Regions from separate parts of the Homo sapiens genome. Here region 1 is linked to region 2. Evidence: promoter capture Hi-C in 16 types of primary human blood cells and fetal thymus (Javierre and others, 2016). All regions are on one chromosome and are shown on one strand. The core of a region is centred on a gene start or on the middle of the fragment in contact, and the rest is flanking DNA. Distances in the headings are between cores, read along the strand shown. Region 1 holds the start of PCDHGA7 (protocadherin gamma subfamily A, 7). Region 2 overlaps PCDHA1 (protocadherin alpha 1).

Region 1 (6,703 bases), core at 153-2,652, 490 kb after region 2:
TTTTCTTTCTGCTAGCAGAGGGTAGCCTCGGATCCATCAATAATTTAGTTTTACTCTATCAACATCAGTGGAGAGACGAGTACCTCTAAGGATCCTGTCAGGACAGTCCTGCATTTTGCTCAAATGCTGTCTAGAGATCCCTGTTTTCTCAATTACACTAGAATAGAGTAGGATGAAGATTTGAATTGCATACTAGGATGAAGACTTGAATTGAATTGCATAATGAAAAGAATCAGCCAATCCATTATCCAGTTTCTTATGAATTCACAGCCCAGTAGGATCTCTGCAGATTTCTGCCTTCTGTAGAAAATGGGTTGCTTCTATAGCTGATTGCTGCAGCCAAGACAAACAACGATTTCTTTCTTTTTTTCTCACAAGACTGGGAGTGAGAATATTTGGATTCCGACATTGTTCTACTACTATATAATCAATAATCAGGAACAAGGCAAGGCAATTCCCTCTTTCTTTCTTTCTTTCTTTCTTCTTCTTTTTTTTTTTTTTTTTTTTTTGGCAGAGTTTTGCTCTTGTTGTCCAGGCTGGAGTGCAATGGTGTGATCTCGGCTCACCACAACCTCCACCTCCCGGGTTCAAGCGATTTTCCTGCCTCAGCCTCCTGAGTAGCTGGGATTACAGGCGCGCGCCACCACGCCCGGATAATTTTGTATTTTTAGTAGAGACGGGGTTTCTCCATGTTGGTCAGGCTGGTCTCAAGCTCCCGACCTCAGGTGATCCGCCCGCCTCGGCCTCACAAAGTGTGGGATTACAGGCGTGAGCAACAGCACCTGGCCCCCCCTCTCATTTTTTAAACGGTTAAAATGAAGGTGTTAGACCGTCTCTAAGGTTCTATACAATCAAAAATTTATTAAAATAGGTCTATATATTTTACAACAATTTTGACTTTCTGAATCTTGCATCATGGTGTCTAGAACATATGTGTTCAATTAATACTGAATTAATTAAAATTTATATACACTGATGTAAATATTTTCTAAGTAAAATCTTTCATATGTATTTAAATAAAATTTACCTTTTTGCCTTCAATAACTGATTTTCCCATGTGCAATAACGTGTGAGTCAGTGCCCAAAAGAGTCACTTGAAAGTTGCAAGGCAAAGCAGTTTTTTAAAAATTATCTAAGATTATCAAACACCGGTCCATGAACACTGTTGCATTAATTCAGTGTCTTAAAATGGATTTTTAATTATCAGGGATATCTAGAGCAAAGAAATCTAACAGGGAAATTTTGAAAGATGAAACAATTTTCTATGAAATCAGTGTATTGTGTGCATCAATGTGGTGCAGTAACTTAGTAAGGACTCACAGCGCCGCTGTTCACCAACCAGGGAAAAATGGTGCGAGAGATCCCACAGAAACCACCGAGTTTTACAGCACAGAGAAACGACAGATTGCGATAAGCCCTCTTCCAGGCTGCACTAAACTCAAGCCTCTATCCTGCTGGATTCTGAGCTCCCCTTCCTAAGACAGAGGGGTCCACCCGGATACACCCGCATTCTGAAGCACTTCCCGAGATCGGCGCCTAAGCAAGAGAAGCAGGACGACTATGGCGGCTCAGCCGAGGGGCGGGGACTACAGAGGATTCTTCCTGCTCTCCATCCTCCTGGGGACCCCCTGGGAAGCCTGGGCAGGACGTATTCTCTACTCCGTGTCGGAGGAGACGGACAAAGGGTCCTTTGTGGGAGACATCGCCAAGGACCTGGGGCTGGAGCCCCGGGAGCTGGCGGAGCGCGGAGTCCGCATCATCTCCAGAGGTAGGACGCAGCTTTTCGCCCTGAACCAGCGCAGCGGCAGCTTGGTCACTGCGGGCAGGATAGACCGGGAAGAGATCTGCGCTCAGAGTGCGCGGTGTCTGGTAAACTTTAACATCCTGATGGAAGATAAAATGAATCTTTACCCTATAGACGTGGAAATAATAGATATTAATGACAACGTTCCAAGATTCTTGACGGAAGAAATAAATGTAAAAATAATGGAGAATACAGCTCCTGGGGTTCGGTTTCCGTTAAGCGAGGCTGGGGATCCAGATGTGGGCACGAACTCCCTCCAGAGTTACCAGCTCAGCCCCAATCGCCACTTCTCCCTGGCTGTGCAAAGTGGAGACGATGAAACTAAGTACCCGGAACTGGTGCTGGAGCGGGTGCTGGACCGGGAGGAAGAGCGGGTTCACCACCTGGTCCTCACAGCCTCTGATGGCGGCGACCCGCCCCGATCCAGCACCGCCCACATCCAGGTGACAGTGGTGGATGTGAATGACCACACGCCTGTCTTCTCTCTGCCTCAGTACCAAGTAACTGTCCCCGAGAATGTGCCAGTGGGTACAAGACTGCTCACGGTACATGCTATCGACCTGGACGAGGGAGTCAATGGGGAAGTGACATATTCTTTTCGGAAAATAACTCCTAAACTTCCAAAGATGTTTCATCTGAACTCGCTTACAGGAGAAATATCAACTTTAGAAGGATTAGATTATGAAGAAACTGCCTTCTATGAAATGGAGGTTCAGGCTCAAGATGGTCCTGGTAGTCTGACAAAGGCAAAAGTACTGATCACAGTTTTAGATGTAAATGATAATGCTCCAGAAGTGACTATGACGTCTTTAAGTAGCTCAATCCCTGAAGACACACCTCTTGGGACAGTCATTGCTCTTTTCTACCTACAAGACAGAGATTCTGGAAAGAATGGTGAGGTGACCTGCACCATTCCAGAAAACCTACCTTTTAAATTAGAAAAATCAATAGATAATTATTATAGATTGGTCACAACCAAAAACTTGGACCGGGAAACACTCTCTTTGTATAACATCACACTGAAAGCCACAGATGGTGGAACTCCTCCCTTGTCCAGGGAAACTCACATATTCATGCAGGTGGCAGACACCAACGATAACCCACCCACCTTCCCCCACTCATCCTACTCAGTCTACATCGCTGAGAACAACCCCAGAGGGGCCTCCATTTTCTTAGTGACTGCACAGGACCACGACAGTGAGGATAATGCCCAGATCACTTATTCCTTGGCCGAAGACACCATCCAGGGGGCTCCAGTGTCCTCCTATGTCTCCATAAACTCTGACACTGGAGTCCTGTACGCGCTGCAATCCTTTGATTATGAGCAGTTGAGAGAACTACAACTAAGAGTGACTGCACATGACAGCGGGGACCCGCCTCTCAGCAGCAACATGTCACTGAGCCTGTTCGTGCTGGACCAGAATGACAACCCGCCCGAGATCCTGTACCCGGCCCTCCCCACAGATGGTTCTACTGGCATGGAGCTGGCACCCCGCTCCGCAGAGCCCGGCTACCTGGTGACCAAGGTGGTGGCGGTGGACAAAGATTCAGGCCAGAACGCCTGGCTGTCATACCTCCTGCTTAAGGCCAGCGAGCCAGGACTCTTTGCGGTTGGGCTGTACACGGGCGAGGTGCGCACGGCTCGGGCCCTGCTGGACAGAGATGCCCTCAAGCAGAGCCTCGTGGTGGCCGTCCAGGACCACGGTCAGCCTCCTCTGTCAGCCACCGTCACACTCACCGTGGCTGTGGCTGACAGCATCCCCGAAGTCTTGGCCGACCTGGGCAGCCTTGAGCCCTCCGACGGTCCTTACAACTATGACCTCACGTTGTACCTGGTGGTGGCGGTGGCCACAGTCTCCTGCGTCTTCCTAGCCTTCGTCCTCGTACTGCTGGCGCTCAGGCTGCGGCGCTGGCACAAGTCACGCCTGCTGCAGGCTTCAGAAGGTGGCTTGGCGAACGTGCCCACCTCGCACTTTGTGGGCATGGACGGGGTGCAGGCTTTCCTGCAGACCTATTCCCATGAGGTCTCCCTCACCGCGGACTCTCGGAAGAGTCACCTGATCTTCCCCCAGCCCAACTATGTAGACATGCTCATCAGCCAGGAGAGCTGTGAGAAAAATGATTCTTTGCTAACATCCGTAGATTTTCAGGAATGTAAAGAAAACCTGCCAAGTATTCAGGTGAGCCCAGCCCTTCCTTTATTTCCATGAGGAATTTATTTGCATGATATTTCTCTATTATTTTGCAAAACAAATGTTTTGAAAATAGGGATTTAAAAAACTTTATAGAGGTAAAAATGAGTTTACCAGTTTCCTTCAGTGGTGACACTTTAATATAGAACACATAGGATATAGTATTTCTTTAGTGAAAGCCTATGGACAAGATTATGAATATGTGGACTATCACATTTTATAATTTCCACCTACTTTCCAATCTATGTTCCAACCTACTTTCTTAACTCATATATTTTATACATTGGAATGAATCGAGTCTTTCATATTGCACAAGGTTAGCAGGAATAAAACACACCTCAGCTGTCTTCTCAGGATTCTCTTTAGCATTCAAATATGTAAAAGGTTCTGAAAGATTTCTTCCATGTGAAGATTTTTTTCTGTGGCTGATTCTGCCTCCATGTACCTCAGCTTGGTGGTCCTAAAAAATCTTGATTGCTTCTTGACCTATTTACAGTATAATCATTTATTAATGGGGTGGTAGTAGAAGGTTGGATTTATGCCTAAAGAATGAAATGTGTGTGTATCACACTTCACTAAGATCTATATCAAAGACAGACATCAAGTCTAATGCCACACTAAAGGCCATCGGACAAAACCAATAAAATATGTCAAATAAAATGTCATTTTAAGTGTTGTAATTGGCATTTGTGACATAGGCAATTACATGTTTTAACAGAGAATTCCAGTATGTTGTTTTAGTGGTACAGCCAGATGAAGTGTGTCTGTGGGCTATCAAAGTGGGAGATTGGGGATACTGGCTTTGTTTCAACTGTCTCACGTACTCAAACCTTAGACCATCTTATGTACACAGATCCTAGACCAGTAGTTGATTTTATTTATTAGGTCTACTGAAAAATTCAGTTGGAAATAACCCAATCTGGGATTAACTACTTCCATATTCTTTTGTATAACATTTTAGTAAAGCTCAGTATATCAAGTGATTGTCATCCAGAAGGGGTGGATGACAAGGTAATCTTGATTCCAGAGACCTTTGAGTATTAATTAAAAACACACTTTTAGCCAGGTATGGTGTTGCAAGCTGTAGCCCACCTGCATGGGAGGCTGAGGCAAGAGGACAGCTTGAACCCAAGAATTGGAGGCCCACCTAGATAATATAACAAGACTCTGTCTCTTCAAAAAAAGACTCTTTTTAGACTAGTGTTGTATTTGGTAGTATTTTGCACATGATAGACTCTGTACAATAGTGTGGGGGATACATTTTTTTTTTTTGACATGGAGTCTCGCTCTGTCACCCAGGCTGGATACATTTTACAAGTTCTGCAGTGTTCACATTTCAGATGTACAATCACTTGGGGTAGAAGACAATGTTGCTGACACCAACAATGTTACTGAGGGAAGATCCTATGGCAGAACTACGGTTATAAGGTATTTTGTAAAAGAAAATCTCCTGACCAAAATTTATTAGATGCATAAAATTGTTTTTAAGCAATGGAGAGACATAATCACTAAACTCAGTGAGCTATTGCAATCAAACTTTCCAGGGATTGTTTCCTTCAATTCAGAGGTCACCAAGGAATGTAAAATAAGTGCAGAGGTAGGAAGCAGTGCTTCAGTGCAGCAGATCTCAGTGACTTTGTGTTTTGAGGCTATGTATTATCCCCCTGATAACTTTGAAGATGAATGTTGTATTTCATAACCAGTAAAATAATTGTGTAATGAGGAGAGGAGTAGGCTACTGCCTGTGATCATCGAAATGAGAATCACATAATATTCCTGTAATGAAATCACTGAAACTATTGGGAAGGGGGTGTATTTGAAGATAAGTATAAATTGCACCTTCTAAAAGGCAATTTTGGTATTACTGATACTCTCCGGAAAAAGTTGAAATAAATCAACTTGGAGGTACTTAGAAAAGTGGAGAAAATGTTAGGAACAATGAAAGAAAGATAAAATGTATCCAGTATATTTCTAATGAGTAAGTATGGAAAATTACTGTACTCTGAGACGGTTTAGGCCAAGTCTGTGTTATGGCTATCTTTATATAGATAGTGCATGTTTGAAGATTGGGGAAAGCTTATGTCAATAAATGTTTATGTACTTAATCTACATGATTTGCCTAAAAATCCTCAAAGTTGGGATGAAGGCATTCCTAAGAGTACATTTTTAGACGTCATTAAATATACAGACGTATCCACGTAGTTTTTGTTCTTTCAGTTAGGCACACAATTATAATTATTGCACTGGTTAACTTGAAGCAGCAGAGGCTGTAGTTTCCTAGTGCTGACTCTGGGCGCCGCTGTTGGCCAAAGTGGAGAGCTTGGCGCTCCAGATCTCCTCGCGCAGCCGCAGCGCGCTTTCCAGGGCAGCCCCAGCTCAGACTCCCCAGCGCCAGCCTTTACACCGCTTCCTCCTCGGAAAAAGAAGAATTTTTTCTTGAACTGGAACTGCAACTAAAGTCCGTTCGGAGATCCAAAAATCTGCAATACAGAGGTTATTTGTAACCCGGCGTCTCCAGGCTGGTGAGCAAGCTGAGGAGAGCAAGAGGGATGGGGAGCGGCGCCGGGGAGCTGGGCCGGGCTGAGAGGCTGCCAGTGCTCTTTCTCTTCCTGCTGTCTTTGTTCTGCCCGGCGCTCTGTGAGCAGATCCGCTACAGGATTCCCGAGGAAATGCCCAAGGGCTCCGTAGTGGGGAACCTCGCCACGGA
Region 2 (6,522 bases), core at 2,525-5,024:
TTTTTAGTAGAGATGGGGTTTCATCTTGTTAGCCAGGATAGTCTCGAACTCCTGACCTCGTGATCCACCTGGCTCGGCCTCCCAAAGTGCTGGGATTACAGGTGTGAGCCACCGCGCCCGGCTCTTTATCTCATTTTTATTTTTGAAAAAGTATTTTCACTGGGCATAGTTGACAGTTTTTTAAAAGATATAATTCAGTTGTCTTCTGGCTTGCATAGTTTCTAATAAGATGTTTGCTTTTTTATATATGAGTCTTCCTCTCCCCACCCCTCATGGTTACTGTTAAAACTTTTCTTTTTATCCTGACTTTTGCAGATTGATTGTGATGTGCTTTAGTATGGTTTTCTTTATGTTAGTCTGTTGGGGTTTGTTGATATTCTTGGATCTGTGGATTTATCATTTTCATCAAATTCAGGAAAAAATCAACCATACTTCTTCTAATAGTTTTTTCTTTCCTTCCATCCTTTCTGAGACTCCAGTAACACATATGTTACAATGACACAGGTCATTGAAGCGTTCTTTATTTTTGTCCATTTCTTTCTCTGTGCCTCATTTTGAATATCTTTTATTGACATATTTTCCAAGTTCACTAATTTTTCCTTTTGTAGTATCATATCTGTTAATCCTAAACAGTGTATTCTTCATTTCAGAGACCATATTTATTTCTTATCTGTATAAGATTCTTTTTGTCTCTTTTAAAATTTATTTTACATGTCTCCACCGAATAGTCATCTTTTTATCTATATGTTTGAGCATATTAGTACATGTATAATAGATGTTTTAACTTTCTTGTCTGCTAATTTCAACATTTTTGTCCTTAGTTTGCTTCTTTTAATCTATCTTCTTCTATGGATATATTTTCTTGCTGTTTTGCATGACTGGTAATCTCTAATAAGATGCTAGACATTGTGAATTTTACATTGTCGGATGCTGGATTTTGTGTGTGTGTGCATGTGTGTGCGTGTTCCTTTAAAGCAGTAGTTCTTGATAAGAAACAGTTTTGTCCCCTCTACCCCCTACCCAGGAGATAATTTGGCAATGCCTGGATACATTTTTGGTTATTACAACTAGGGAATTGCTACTGGCATCTAATAATGGAGCTCTGAGATGCTGCTAAACACCATCCAATTGCTGCCAAACATCCTACCGTGCACAGGACAGCCGCCCAACAATAAAGAATTAGCTCAAAATGTCAGTAGTTCCACTGTTGAGAAACTCTGCTTTAAAGAGTCTTGGACTTAGTTCTGACGTGAAGTTAAGTTGCTCAGTACCAATTTATTCCTTTCAAGGCTTCATTTTAAGATTTGTTAGTACACATTCAGAGCAGCTTTTAGTGTAGCACTAATTCGGCCTTCTATTACAGCAATACTTTCCTGAGGACACCACCTAATGCCCTGTGCATTAAGAGGTCTCTCTTCTCTGATTGGTAGGAATGTGAAATATTTCCAGCCCTTTGTGAGCTCTAGGAATTATTCTACCCACTTTTTTTTTTAATTTTGAAGGGATAGCCTGATCTGGGGAGGTTGATCAGTGATCTGTGATCTGTGATCACATCACTCCACTGCAGCCTGGTGACAGAGTGAGACCATGTCTCAACATAAAAATTAAAACATTAGAATTGAGGTTTAATGTTATCAAATATTTTATCTGCATCTTTTGAGGGAGGTATAAATTTTTTCTTTGGCAATGTTAATGTGTTGAATTTATGATTTATGATTTTCTTATGGCAAACCAACCTCTACTTCCTTGGATAACCGTAATTTGATTATAATTTATAATCCTTTTAATATACTACTTATTTTGTTAAATTTTCAAAACAATTTTTTCATCTTTATTCCAGGTGATACTGATATGTCCTAGTTTTTCTTCCTAATTTCTTCTTTGTTAAGTATTCAAGTTATAAATAAGAATCTAGCATAACTTGAATACTTAACAAAGAAGAATAGTCTTTGAAAACTTCCAGAAAATTTTCTGTTTCCTGTAAAAGTTTGTATAATCTTTGAATTACTTCTTATTTGATTGGAGAACTCACTGTTGAAGTTATCTGTATCAGGATTTTGATTGGTGGGAATATTTCTGATTACTGACTCAATTTTAATAGTATAAGGACCATTCAGAGTTTAATTTACTCGAGTCAGTTACGTAGATAATATTTTTTCAGGTATTTTCCTGTTTAATCTAAATTTTCAGTTATATGCTCATACTTTCTACAGAATCTATAGTGATATTTCCCTTTCCATTCTTGATATTATTTTTGCTTCCTGTCTAATTTACTTTTCTTCAGAATTCTGCTTTCTGATTTTTGTTTTTGCTTTGAAATATTTTTATATTAATTATACTGATTCATTTCTCTTCTTTTCATTTGTGTTTGCAGGAGATGTCCTCTTCCCAGCCTTTTATTTTAAACCTTTTAGTATTATGGGCATATTCCACAAGTTCTTTGCTACTGTCTCACTGAGTAGCAGAGTCTAATTTTTCTTTCCTTGAACTTTGACTGGTCTTAATATTGGAAGTAACATTCTGGGATTTATGAAGTCAGGTCATAAGAAGTCTTACAGTATGCTTTGGTCTCTGAGAATATTTGTTTTGGGGGAAGCCTGCCACCATGTAAGAATTCTGACTACCTTGAGATTGTCATACTGTAAAGAAGCTCAAGCTGGACTTGTGAGAAGCCAAATGGATAGAAAAATTACTATCCAGTCTCCAGTTGTCTTAGCTTTCCAAGCTTAGGTGCCAGAAAAATGTAGAAGGCTTCAGGTGACTGTAGTGTGTTGGAGCTGGCTCTTTTACTGGCTTATGAGAACTGATAATGCAAATTTATTCCCAACTCTGGATTCAATGATGTCACTTTGGTAGCTTGAAATTGGCCATGGTAGGAGTATTTCTGCCACAGAAATAGGCAAATGCTACAAAACAGAGTTTTTTGTTTTTCTTTTTTCCCAGAGACCTAGTTGTTAAGCATTTACCAGTACACTACTGCACCTGATTGCAAGCAAGAACCACTCAGTTGAGTCAGAACCAGGAGAGGTAATATTAAGTTGTTTTAAGATATTAGGTAGTTGGGATGGTTTACTATATAGCAATGGATAACCTGAACAAGTACTCTTTCTTAGATAATCTATAAATTTTAACTTGAATATTTATTTAGTTTATATTTACAATACCTAGTGATATCTTTAGGCACAAATATTTCAATTTTTTGTGCGTTATTTTTGTCTCACCATTTTTATGTCTCTATTTCCTTCCTTTGTTGATCTTCTTTTGAAATGACTGAGTACTTTTTATTGTTCCATTTCCTTCTGTATTATTTGGAAGCCCTTTTCCGAATAGCTAGTGCTTACCCTAGAAAATTAAGCATGTATCCTTGATATATCAAAATCAAAAGTTAACTGAAACCCTTCCTCCTTCTGGGAAATGCAGGGACCTTACATTTTTAAAATCTTTTTAATCCCTTTTGACTTATATACTATTTCTGTCATGCTTTAAAAATATTTTAAAACCCCATAAGATATTAGTATTATTTTATACAATCAACATTGTTTTAAATGTACTTACATATTTACCAGTTTTGTTTCTCTTCCTTACTTCTTGCCCCTCTGACCTTTCATCAGGGATTATTGTCTTTCCATGTTAGAATAATTTGAGAGTTTCCTTTAGTCCAAAGATGCTGGTGAGGAATGATTTCAGGTTTTGTTTTTCTGAAAATGTCTTTATTTCATCATAATTATTGAAAAGCATTTTTTCTGAGGGTATAATCTTAGGTGTGACCCCCACAGCACATAGTAAATATTATTCCAGTGTCTACTGGTTTCCATTGTTGCTGTCAAGAATTTAGCTGTCAATCTAAATGTCATTCCTTTAAAGGTATTCTGTTTATTTTCCTTTGGCTGCTTTTCAGATTTTCTGTGTGTCTGATATTTTGCAGTTTTACCATGCTGTGTCTTTATAATCATCCTGTTCTGGATTCAGTAGGATTTTTTTTAATTTTTAATTTTTCCGTAAGTTATTGGGGGTACAGGTGGTATTTGATTACATGAGTAAGTTCTTTGGTGGTGATTTGTGAGATTTTGGTGCATCCATCACCTGAGCAGTATACATTGCACCATATTTGCAATCTTTTATCCCTCGCCACCCCCCACTCTTGCCCCCAAGTCCCCAACGTCCATTGTATAGGATTTTTGAATTTGTGAATTAATGCCTTTACATCACTTTGAGCATATCCTCAGCTATAATGTTCTCCAATGTTGCTTCTGTTCCATTGTATTTCTATAGTATTATTTTAGTACTCTAATTAAACATATTTTAATCTTATTACTCTATCCCATCTATTTCTACCTTTTATTTTAACACCTTTTGCTCTTTGGGCTTTATTGTGGATAGTTCACCCACCTTAAAGTTTAATAATTCTCTCTTCTTGCTGTTGTCTGAATTTGTACCCCCAAATTCATGTGTTGAAAATTCAATCCCTTATACAACAGTGTTGGGAGGTGGGGAATTTCAGGAAATGTTTAGATTATGAGGGATCTGCCCTCATGAATAAATTAACGGCACTGTAAAAGGACTTGATGGAAGGAGCCTGTCCCTCTCTTATGCTTTTGGCTCTGTCATGTGACGATGCAGCAAGAAGATCTTCACCAGATGCTGGTGCCTTGATCTTGGACTTCCCCTAGGCTCCAGAATTGTGAGAAGTAAATTTCCGTTCTCATAAATTACTCAGTCTGTGGCATTCTGTTATAGCAGCACAAATGGTCTAAGATACTTTTATTTATTCTTTTTCAAATTTATTGTTACTTTGTATAATTTCTAGTTTCCTCTCGAAACTTTCAAGCTTGGCATTTATATCTGGAACACAATAAGCTCATGGTTTTAGCGTCTATTTCTGATATGTCCAGTAACTGGGATCCTCATGGGTCTATTCCTGTGGTGTGTTTTAAAATTGTATCTTTATGGTGTTTTGTCTCCACATAAACCTGGTTATCTTTGATTTTGTGCTGAAAGTTGTATTAAACACTTCTTCCTGGAAATAATTTGGGGCTTATAACATTTTCTTTCTCCAGAATGGATTTTAATTGACTTTTGCCAGGCATCTTGGGGCACTAGCAATCATGGGTAATCTTAATCTATTTCAAGCTTCAGGTATTCTAGATAAAACCTCATTATCTAAAATTTACATGTATTCTTTAAGTACGGTTATTCAGTTTCCTAGCCAAACATGAGAGATTGTTTAAGAAGTTCCACCATGACTGGTAGACTCAGGATTCTGACTTTTGTTTCTCTAGTCCTTGGAGACTGTCAAAAGTATATCTCAGTATTCATTCACCTATTTTTTTCCTTTTATTTCCAGTTGGTACATAATAATTGTACATATTTATAGGATACAGAGTGACATTTTGATACATATATACAATGTATAATAATAAAATCAGGGTAATTAGCATATTCATAATCTCAAACATTTACCATTTTTGCATGGTGAACATTTAAAATCCACTCTTCTAGCTTCTTGAAAATATGTAAGAAATTATAGTTAACCATATTTATCCTACAGTGCTACAGTGCTGCAAAACACCACAACCCATTCCTCCTGTGTAGCTATAATTTCGTATCCATTAACCAACCTTTCCCCATCCTCCTTTTCCTTCACCCTTCCCAGCCTCTGATAAGCACAATACTACTTCCATGAGCTCAATAAAATTTTGTAGCTGCCGTATAAGTGAGAACATGTATTTATTTTTCTGTGCCTGACTTATTTCACTTAACATATGCCCTCCAGGCTCAGCCATACTGCCATGAATAACAGGATTTCATTCTTTTTTATGGCTGGATAATATTCCGTTGTGCATATACACCACATTTTCTTTATCCACTCATCTGTTGATGGATATTGAGGTTGATTCCACATAGTAGCTATTGTGAATAGTGCTGCAGTAAGTATGGGAGGTGCAGGTATCACTTTGACATACTGGTTTCCTTTTCTTTGGATAAATGCCCAATAGTGGAATTGCTGGATGATATGGTAGTTCTATTTGTAGTTTTTTGAGGGACTCCCATACTGTTTTCCTTAGTGGCAGTGCTAATTTACATGCCCACCAACAGCATTTATGGGACAGTGGCTCATGCCTGTAATCCCAGCACTTAGGGAGGCAGAGGCAGGAAGATCGCTTGAAGCCAGGAGTTCAAGACCAGCCTGGGCAACATAGCAAGACCCTGTTCTTCACAAAAAAGAAAAAAAAAGCAGTTGTAGAACTCCTTTAAGTATTTCTTGTAGGACTTATCTAGTTGTAGTGTACTTCCTCAGTTTTTGCTTGTTTGGGAAATACTTTATTTCTCCTTCATTTCTGAAGTATAGCTCTGCTTGGTATAGTATTTTTGGCTGATAGTTTTAAAAAATTTCAGCACTTTGGATATATCATCTCATTCTATCCTAGCCTGTAAAGCTTCTGCTGAGAAATCTGCTGTTAGTCTGATGGGAATTTTCTTATAGGTGACTTGTCACTTTTCTTTTACCGTTTTTAGAATTCC

Evidence for each region. Contacts are between HindIII fragments. The CHiCAGO score rates a contact against its expected background, and 5 or more counts as called.
Region 1: a contact is called between the fragment with the promoter of PCDHGA7 here and a fragment that was not itself captured in region 2, in 1 of 17 cell types (M1 macrophages). The highest score is 5.3, in M1 macrophages.

The regions. Positions count from the first base shown.
Region 1 is chr5:141,381,340-141,388,042 of GRCh38, forward strand. PCDHGA7 (protocadherin gamma subfamily A, 7) reads left to right here and starts at 1,403. Exons shown (of 4, transcript NM_018920.4): 1 at 1,403-3,984. The coding sequence starts at 1,561. All of the region lies in intron 1 of PCDHGA1 (protocadherin gamma subfamily A, 1), which reads left to right. All of the region lies in intron 1 of PCDHGA2 (protocadherin gamma subfamily A, 2), which reads left to right. The region is part of intron 1 of PCDHGA3 (protocadherin gamma subfamily A, 3); the gene reads left to right. It also overlaps PCDHGB1, PCDHGA4, PCDHGB2, PCDHGA5, PCDHGB3 and PCDHGA6, and 2 more genes. The HindIII fragment of the contact is 6,225 bases long and covers 1-6,070 here.
Region 2 is chr5:140,887,273-140,893,794 of GRCh38, forward strand. The region is part of intron 1 of PCDHA1 (protocadherin alpha 1); the gene reads left to right. All of the region lies in intron 1 of PCDHA2 (protocadherin alpha 2), which reads left to right. The region is part of intron 1 of PCDHA3 (protocadherin alpha 3); the gene reads left to right. The region is part of intron 1 of PCDHA4 (protocadherin alpha 4); the gene reads left to right. It also overlaps PCDHA5, PCDHA6, PCDHA7, PCDHA8, PCDHA9 and PCDHA10, and 4 more genes. Among named protein-coding and RNA genes, the nearest start is that of PCDHA13, 8.4 kb to the left of the region's middle. The HindIII fragment of the contact is 2,103 bases long and covers 2,724-4,826 here.